Linked DNA regions of Homo sapiens: region 2 is linked to region 1. Evidence: promoter capture Hi-C in 16 types of primary human blood cells and fetal thymus (Javierre and others, 2016). All regions are on one chromosome and are shown on one strand. Each heading gives the region's core, a stretch centred on a gene start or on the middle of the fragment in contact. The rest is flanking DNA. Distances are from core to core; before and after follow the strand shown. Region 1 holds the start of ERCC6L (ERCC excision repair 6 like, spindle assembly checkpoint helicase). Region 2 has its middle 2.7 kb from the start of NAP1L2.

Evidence for each region. Contacts are between HindIII fragments. The CHiCAGO score rates a contact against its expected background, and 5 or more counts as called.
Region 2: a fragment that was not itself captured here is called in contact with the fragment with the promoter of ERCC6L in region 1 in 1 of 17 cell types (naive CD4 T cells); the score reaches 6.0 in naive CD4 T cells.

Annotation. Positions count from the first base shown.
Region 1 is chrX:72,237,261-72,242,097 of GRCh38, forward strand. ERCC6L (ERCC excision repair 6 like, spindle assembly checkpoint helicase) reads right to left here and starts at 1,767. Exons shown (of 2, transcript NM_017669.4): 1 at 1,584-1,767. The coding sequence starts at 1,651. It also overlaps a transcript of PIN4 not described here. RefSeq lists an enhancer at 1,549-1,698. The HindIII fragment of the contact is 5,695 bases long and covers 1-3,214 here.
Region 2 is chrX:73,215,083-73,219,930 of GRCh38, forward strand. No RefSeq gene overlaps it. Among named protein-coding and RNA genes, the nearest start is that of NAP1L2, 2.7 kb to the left of the region's middle. The HindIII fragment of the contact is 1,584 bases long and covers 701-2,284 here.

The DNA.
Region 1 (4,837 bases), core at 517-3,016:
CCGAGGCAGGAGGATTGCTTGAACTCAGGAGTTTGAGACCAGCCTGGGCAACATGGCGAGACCCTGTCTCTACTAAAAACACAAAAAAAATACTTTGGGAGGCCGAGGCGGGCGGATCACGAGGTCAGGAGATTGAGACCATCCCGGCTAACACGGTGAAACCCCGTCTCTACCAAAAATACAAAAAATTAGCCGGGTGTGTTAGCGGGCGCCTGTAGTCCCAGCTACTCGGGAGGCTGAGGCAGGAGAATGGCGTGAACCCGGAAGGCGGAGCTTGCTGTGAGCCCAGACCGCGCCACTGCACTCCAGCCTGGGTGACAGAGCGAGACTGTATCAAAAAAAGAAAAAAAAAAAATAGCTGGGTGTGGTGGTGTGCGCCTGTGGTCCCAGCTACTCCGGAAACAGGTGGGAGGATCGCATGAGCCCCGGGGGATGGAAGTTGCAGTGAGCTGAGTTAGAGATCGCGCCACTGCACTCCAGCCTGGGTGACAGAGCCAGACCCTGTCTCTAAAAATATATATAAAACAACAATAGTAAAATAATAAATTGGCTGGACATGGTGGCACCCACCTTAAGTCCCAGCTACTAGGGAGGCTGGGGCAGGAGGACTGCTTGAGCCCAGGAGTTCGAGGCTGCAGTGAACTATGATCAGGCCACTGAATTCCAGTCTGGGCGACACAGCAAGACCCTGTCTCAAAAAAAATTAAAGCAGTAAAATTCACAGAGACAGAATAATGGTTGCTAGGGGCTGAAGGGAGGGGGAAATGGGGAGTTTGTTTAATGGGAGTAGTTTCAGTTTTGCCACATGAGAAAAGTTCTGGAGATGACGGACGGCTGCACAACAATATGAATGTAGTCAACACTACTGAACTGTACATTTAAAAATGGTTAGGATGATAAACTTTATTTTTCATAAAACCCAGTTTCTGCACAAAAAGATAAAATTTATGTTATGTGTACTTTACCACAATTTAAGAAAAAATTTAAATTCTCATCCCAACATTACCACGCCCCCCACCCTTAGCCAACTGGTGAATGTTTACTCATTTTTCAACGCCTAGCTCAAATGTCTCCTCTTGCCACGCCATCCCTTAGCTGACCACCCTTGTAGTTGGCCATTCCCTCTTTTATGCCAACACTGTGCCCTGCACGTACATTATACCTCTTACAGCACTTATCAAACCTAGTAATTATTGCTTTACAGATCCGTTTCCACTACTAGATTACAAACAATTTGGGGGCGGGGACCTTGTTTTACTCATCTCTGTATCCCCTAGACTTAGGGCTTGATAAGCTGAAAAGAATCAAGAAGGGCTTGATTAATTAAGGCTCCTCTGGCTTTTAAGGAGACCATACTGGAGGGTCATTTGCCCAAAAGAAGAGGCATCGGGGTCTCCTCAGGTTTTAGAAATCTGGTCAAACATCCAGAGCTGACTCCCACACCCTACTGCGAGAAGAGCGCGAGCGCGCGTCTCAAAAGGCTCCGCCTCAACAGTTCGGGTCCCCAGGAGGATCCGGGGGCCACCCCACCTCCACCCTGGGCCAGGTCGGTTAGCTAGACCCGCCCAGCGGTCCAGACATACCTTAGGTAATGAGCAGCCTGCTCTGGGCTCAAGGCCTCGGCTTCCGGAAACCTTCGGGATGCCTCCATGACCCTCGGATTGGGTTCCAGTTACCCCGGCGGGAGTTTGGAGCTTGGAGCTTGGAGCTTGGAGCTTGGAGCTTAGAGTTTGGAGCTTGAATTTCGCTCACTCCCGCCCCGCGCATGCTCTGTGCGCCGTGGAGAGGGACACAGCCAACCGACGGCCTCGCGGCCGGCCAATCCGCGACCACGCGCTGCGACGCCTCCGCCTGAGCCCCGCCCATGACGGTGGGCGCCTGCGCCTACGCGCGCCGGGAAGCAGAAGGTGATCTCTGCCTTCGAGACACGGAGTGTGCTGCCTCAGTCTGTGATCCCTCGCGTTTCAATCCAATTCAAACCATGCTGCAGCCAATTCGTTCGCGCGTGCGTGTGCCATCATTGTGAGTGGAGGAGACTGCCCGATATGATCCCAGTCATTGCGGCGACCCCTGGAGATCTCCAACGCCTGCGTCCCCCAACCATACCCTGCCCCGCATCCACAGATATCTTCCCTTCCTTGATCGCCAGTACCTGGCACTGACCGTGCTTTGAATTCAAACACCCTGGGAGGCATAGTCCCTGTGATTTAAACTAACATTGAAGAAGCGACCAGACGCGGTGGTTCACGCCTGTAATCCCAGCACTTTGGGAGACCGGGGCGGGCGGATCACGTGAGGTCAGGAGTTCGAGACCAACCTGGCTAAAATGGTGACACCCCGTCTCTACTAAAAATACAAAAAATTAGCCGGGCGTGGTGGCGGGCGCCCGCAGTCCCAGCTACTCGGGTGGCTGAGGCACGAGAATCGCTTGGACCCAGGAGGTGGAGGTTGCAGTGAGCCGGGATTGCACCACTGCACTCCAGCCTGGGTGGCAAAGCGAGACTCCATCTCAAAAAAAAAAAAAAAAAAAAAAAAGGCTGGGTGCAGTGCCTCACGCCTGTTATCCTAGCCTTTTGGGAGGCTAAGGTGGGAGGATCACTTGCACTTAGGAGTTCGAGACCAGCCTGGGCAACATGGTGAGACTCCCGTCTCTTTAAAAAAAATTTTTTTCTTCTCCACAGGGCGTTATGCTGTATTTATTTTCTTAAAAAGAGAGAGAGAAAGAGAGAAGGGTCTTCAAGAATCTCAAACCCTGGAGGTGGAGGCTGCAGTGAGCCAAGATCATGCCACTGCACTCCAGCCTGGGTGACAGAGAAAGACTCCATCTCAAAAAAAAAAAAAAAATTAAAGTTCTTATTTAAGAAATAAGTAACTAGGTTCACATACTTGGTATAATAAAAGGAAGACAAAAATAATTTAAAAAAAAAGAAGTAGTGCTGTGGTCATCATTTCTTCAGAAGCACCAACTAAGATACAGTCATTTTCAAATGCAGAGCCTAAAAAGAAGGCAGAGCCTAGAGCTTAAGGAAATGTGATTGAGTTTAAGTGGCTTGCTTGGGTGACACTAAATAGGAGGTTGTGGGCCAACAAAAATTGTCCTTGTTCATATACTGTTAAGAACACAGACATGACTCCTCAAGACACTAATTTAGCATTCAGTATTGGAAAACTCACCTATTGGCCCAGTCATACATCATATGTCCAGAGAATTTTAAGCTTTTCATAAAATTTATAGACCGTTATGAGTTAAAAGGAATGTTGGAGGCCGGGTTCAGTGGCTCACTGAACCTGTAATCCCAGCACTTTGGGAGGCCGAGGCGGGCGGATCACCTGAGGTCAGGAGTTCAAGACCAGCCTGGCCAAATGGTGAAACCCCCGTCTCTACAAAAATTAGCTGGGCATGGTGGCGGGTGCCTGTAATCCCAGCTTCTCGGGAGGCTGGGGTGGAAGAATCGCTTGAACCCAGGAGGCAGACGTTGCAGTGAGCTGAGATCGTGCCATTGCACTCCAGCCTGGGCGACAGAGCAAGACTCCATCTCAAAAAAAAGAAAAGGGTTGGGGGGAGGTGGGGGATCTTGGAGAACATGGGCTATTTTCCTGGTTTGTATGACTTTAAGGCCTTTATTAAGAGGCCTTTTAGTATACTATTATCCACATTTTTCAGATGTGGAAACAGGCTCAGAGAGATAAATTGACTTCATCTAAGCTTCCTGAGCTAGGAAGCAGCAGAGCCAGAATTCAATACTAGGTCCATATGGACACAAATCTGTGCCGTTTCGCTGTGTCACACTGGAAAGAAGAGGGCAGTGGCGGGAAATGAGGTTGATGAGGCAGTTGAAGGCCAGGTTATGAAGGAACTTGTTTACTCTGCTAAAGTGTTTGAATCACATCTTTTCCTGGAGGCAAGCTTGGATTGGGCTGTGCTATGGTCTGAATGTCCTTCAAAATTCTTGTGTTGAAACTTAATCCCCACCATGGTGGCATTGAGAGGCGGGGCCTTTTAGCAAGTAATGTCATGAGGGATCCTACTTCATGAATAAATTAGTGCCTTATGAAAGGGCTGGAGGGAGCTAGTTTAGGCCCTTTTTGCTCTTCTGCTTTCCTACCATGTAAGGACACACTATTCCTTCCCCTCCAGAGGATGCAGCAACAAGGCACCATCTTGGAAGCAGAGAGCAGCCCTCACCAGATACCAATCCTGCTGGCACCTTCATCTTGGACTCTTCAGCCTCCAGAACCATAATAAATACATTTCTATTGTTTATAAATTATGAGTTTGATGGCCAGGTGAGGAGGCTCACGCCTGTAATCCCGCCCTTTGGGAGGCTGAGGCGGGCAGATCATCTGAGGTCGGGAGTTCGAGACCAGCCTGACGGAGAAACCCTGTCTCTACTAAAAATGCAAAATTAGCCGGGCATGGTGGCACATGCCTGTAATCCCAGCTACTTGGGAGGCTGAGGCAGGAGAATCACTTGAACCTGGGAGGCGGAGGTTGTGGTGAGCCAAGATCACGCCATTGGCACTCCAGCCTGGGCAACAAGAGCGAAACTCCGTCTCAAAAAAAAAAAATATGAGTTTGAGTCTATGGCATTTTATTATAGCAGCACAAAGGAGCTAAGGATGAGTTGAGAGTCCAGGCGCCCTGGATACCCAAAGGATGAGTAGGATGAGAAGAGCAGAATAGGGGAGAAGATGTAGGAGAGAATTCTGCAGAAAGGAAAAGAGAGATGAGAGCACAAAAATCTTCATCTTGAGTCTGGGGAAGGCCATGTCTGGTTGTGCTTTGGCTCAGGGTCCACCATCATCGCTCATATCCGGGGAATTGTTGAGAACTGAA
Region 2 (4,848 bases), core at 243-2,742, 980 kb after region 1:
TGCGTTCATTAGTTCATTCATCCAACTTTTAACAGATATTATACTTTTATGCTTTCCAGAGAGCTCAGAGAAAACGTAACTAAAATGTCGAACAATGAGAGAAGACAAGGCACCCACCCATCCTAAATCAATCTCTTTGATTTTAGATCGGGGACCTGGGGAGGGGAGAGGTGGATGGTGGAAGAGCTGATAAACAAACGCTTCAAAGATTAAAAACACCAGGAATTAGCACTGATGGTCTTTAGGTGGCGTGTCAGTTATTTAAATATTCTATATTATGTTTGTCGGTATTTTTCACAAGCTATATGATTTTAGGTTGAAAAATTCTCGAAACATTTCCTGTGAGGGGAGGAGGAGGAAGTCCGATGGCAGTGGGGGCGAATGAGGGCCTGTGATGAAAAACTAGTATGGTGTATACAACTACGTGACTAGTAAACATACCAGACAATTAACCACAATTAACCAGTTGCCTGGCTTATAAATAACCCCAGTCCCAATACTGACTTTCTGCTTCTCCTTCTTAATGCTGGCTTTAACAGCCGTTAGAAATATACATATATACAAAAGCCAAAATGGAAAGTTATGTTTATTCTTAGAAATCATAACATTTGCTTGATGCTTTTGAGTTAATTGGAAATAATCTAAATCTCAGCATTAAAGAAATGGTTAAACTATTTGATAATGTATTTATAGGATGGAAAGCTTTGCAGTAATTAAAATTTCCTCTCTATAGTAATTATTGGTGAGGTTTATTTTGTTCATATTTCTAACTTGGATCATTTATTAATTGAACAATTTTTTAAAATTTTAAGTGACTATTATTTTCCAGATTTAAAGAATTTGTTACTATCACAGATATTAAAACTGTTTACATATTGTTGTATTTATTTCTAAATTCTGTCAGTTTATAGATAAATTTTTCCTTTAAGTGAAAATACCAGATACAAAAGAACAAATATTGTATGATTCTACTTTAATTAGGTATCTAGAGCAGTCAAATTCACAGAGACAGAAAGTAGAAACATGGTTTTCAGAGGCTTGGGGTAGGGAGGAAAGGAAGTTATTGTTCAATGTGTATGGAGTTTCAGTTCAAGAAAAAGAAAATATTCTGGAGATGTATGGTGATGATGGTTCACAGCAGTGTGATTGTACTTAATGCTCCTGAAATGTAGATTTAAAAATAGGTAAAATGGTAAATATTATGTTATGTATATTTTATCATAATATAAAGTGTAGAGAAAAATATTTTAAAGACCATATTCAATATAGTACTGGAAGTCCTACCCAGAGCAATTTTGCAAGAGAAAAAAATAAAGGACATACATATTGGAAAGGAAGTTGCTAATTTATATCCTTGTTCAAAGAAGACATGATCTTATATTTAGAAAAACCTAAAGACTCCACAAAAAAACTGTTAGAACTAACAAATTAAGTAAGTTTGCATGAAGCAAAATCAACACACATAAATTAGTAGCATTTCTGTACACCAGCAGCAGACAATTTGAAAAAATCAAGAAAACAATCCCATTTACAATAGCTACAAGAAAATAATACATCTAGGAATAAATTTAACCAAAGAAGTGAAAGATCTACGCAATAAAAACTATAAAAACACTAATGAAAGAGATGAAGAGAACCCCAAAATGGAAAGATATCCTATGCTTATGGATTAGAAGAATCAATATTGTTAAAATGTTTATACTACCCAAAGAAATCTACATATTCAATGCAATCTCTATCAAAATACCAATGACATTCTTCACAGAAACAGAAAACAATATCCTAAAACTTTTATGAAACTACAAAAGATCCCAAATAGCCAAAATGATCCTGAGCAAAAAGGACAAAGCTGGAGGCATCACACTGCCTGATGACAAAATGTACTACAAAGCTGCATGGTACTGTCATAAATACAGACGCAAAAAACCAATGGAACAGAATAGAGAACCCAGAAATAAACCCACACATTTACAGCCAACTCATTTGCAACAAAGTCACCGAAAACATACATTAGGGAAATGACAGACTCTTCAATAAATGATGCTGGGAAAGCTGGATATTTGTATGAGAAAGAATAAAACTGGACCCCTATCTCTCACCGTATACAGAAATCAAATAAAAATGAACTAAAGACTTAAATGTAAGACCTGAAACTATGAAACTACTAGACAAAACTGGGAAGATGCTTTAGGACATTGGTCTGAGCAAATATTTTCTTTTTAAGCCCTCGAAAGCACAGGCAACAAAAGCAAAAGTAGACAAATGGGAACACGTTAAGCTAAAAAGCTTCTGCACAGCAAAGAAAACAATAGGGTAAAGAGACAACTTACAGAATGGGAAAAATATTTTCAAAATATCCATCTGACAAGGGATTAATAACCAGAATATATAAGAAACTCAAACAACTCAATGAAAAAAACTCAAATAATTTGATTAAAAAATAGTAAAAAATATGAATACAAATTTCTGAAAAGAAGATACATGAATGAATGGCCAAGGTATATTAAAAATGATGCTCAATATTTCCAGTCATCAGGGAAATGCAAATCAAAACCACAATGAGATATAATCTCATCCCAGTTAAAATAACTATTATCAAAAAATAAATAACAAATGCTGGCAAGGATGCAAAGAAAAGGAAACTCATATACACTGTTGAAGGGAATGTAAATTAGTACAGCCACTATGGAAAACAGTATGAACATTTCTCAAAAAGCTTAAAATAGAACTACCATATGGTCCAGCAATCCCGCTGCTGCTTACATGTCCAAAAGAAAGAAAATCTGTATATTGAAAAGATCTCTGCGTTCTCATGTGTATTGCAGCACTATTAACAAGACCCAAGATATGGAATCAACCCATGTCCATCAATAAAAGAAAAGATAAAGAAAGTATGACATATACACGCAAAGGAATATTATTCAGCTATAAAAGGAATGAAATTCTGTCATTTGCAACAACATGGATGGAACGGCAGAACATTATGTTAAGTGAAATAAGCCAGGCACAGTAAGATGAATATCACATGTTCTCACTAATATGTGGGAACTAAAAAACTCATCTCATGCATATAGCGAGTAGAATAATGATTATCAGGCTGGGATGGGTAGAGTGGAGTGAAATGTTAGTTAATGGGTACCAAAATACAGTTAGATAGAAGGAATTAGTTCTAGTGTTCAACAGCACAGTAGGGTGACTATAGTTCATAATAATTTATTGTATATTTCAATATTGCTATAAAAGAAGATTTTGAATGTTCCCAACACAAAGAAATGATAAATACTTATTATTTGTCAGGTGATGGATGTCCTAATTACCCTGATTTGATCAATACACATTTTGTGCATGTATCAAAATATTACATGTATCCCATAGATATTTACAATTATTATGAATCAACAACATTTTTAAAAAAAAGAAACTCGGGCCAGATGCAGTGGCTCACACCCATGATTCCAGCACTATGGGGGGCCAATGTGAGAGGGTCACTTGAGCCCAGGAGTTTGAAGTCAGCCTGGGAAACATAGTGAGACTCCCATCTATGCAAAAAAATAAAAAATAAAAAATAGCCAGGCATGTTGGTACACACCTGTGGTCCCAGCTACTGGGGAGACTTAGGTAGGAAGATTGTTTGAGCCCAGGATGCCAAGACTGCAGTGAGCCATGATTGTGCCACTGCACTCCAGTCTGAGTGACAGTGAGACCTGTCTCAAAAAAATAAAAAGGTCCTATCAGTATATGCTTGGTAAAAAATAGATGTTCAATACACTTTTAGCAAATGAGTAAATAAATTTAAAAAATCCAAAACTAACAAGCAAAAATGTAAATAATATCTTAAGTAAAATGAGACCTAAGAAAAATGGGTGAAATATATATATGCAAAACACATATATAGATGCAAAACAAATAAATGATTAACATATAAAGAAAATTATCAATGGCTAAAATTAAAATGTCTAACAATTCCAAATTTTGGCAAAGATGTAGAGCAATTTGGACTCTTAGATATTACTAATGGGAGTGTAAACTGGTATAAAAACTTTAAAAATTGTTTGGCATTATCTATTAAATCTAAACACATGCCTCTCCTAGGATTCAGCAATGACCTACTTATGTAAATACACAAAAAGGCTTGTACAATAAAGTTCATGTCAGTTTTATTTGTTTTTAAAATAGTTCTACTTGGGCTTATTTTGTGTATCATGTAATGCACCCTTTTCAAGTGTGTGAATGAATGATTTTTAAAATTATATTTACCAATTGGAGGCAGAGCAAGATGGCTAAATAGAACTCTCCAGCAATCAATCCCCCTATGGGAACATTAAACTGAACAACTTTCCACGCATAAAATACCTTTATAAGAAGTAAAAAATCAAATGAGATATCAGAGTTTCTGGTTTTCGCATAATAAAAAGAAAAGATGCATTGAAGAGGGAAAGAAGAACAGTCTTGTGTTGCTTACACCCCCATCCCAATCCCAGGCAGTGCAGCCCAGAGAGAGAATCTGTACACTCTAGGGAGGGAGTGCAAAGTGAGTGTGGGACTTTGCATTGGAACTCAGTGCTGCCCTATCTCATAGTGTCATGGTGGAACACAACACCAGACAAATTTCCACAGGTTCTTCTGGATAGAGCATTTAGACCAGTCCTGAGCCAGAGATGAATCTACTGCCCTAGTGGGAGGAATTAAAGTCCTGGCCCACTTTATGACTGGCTAACTACAGTGGCCTTGGGCCTCAAATAAATTTCAGTGGCAACCAGGTAACTAGTGACTGAGATCCTTGGGCAAGTCTAAGTGTGGTTCTGCAACTGGTCTTAGAGGCTGTAGACTTGGGATGTGACCCAGCAC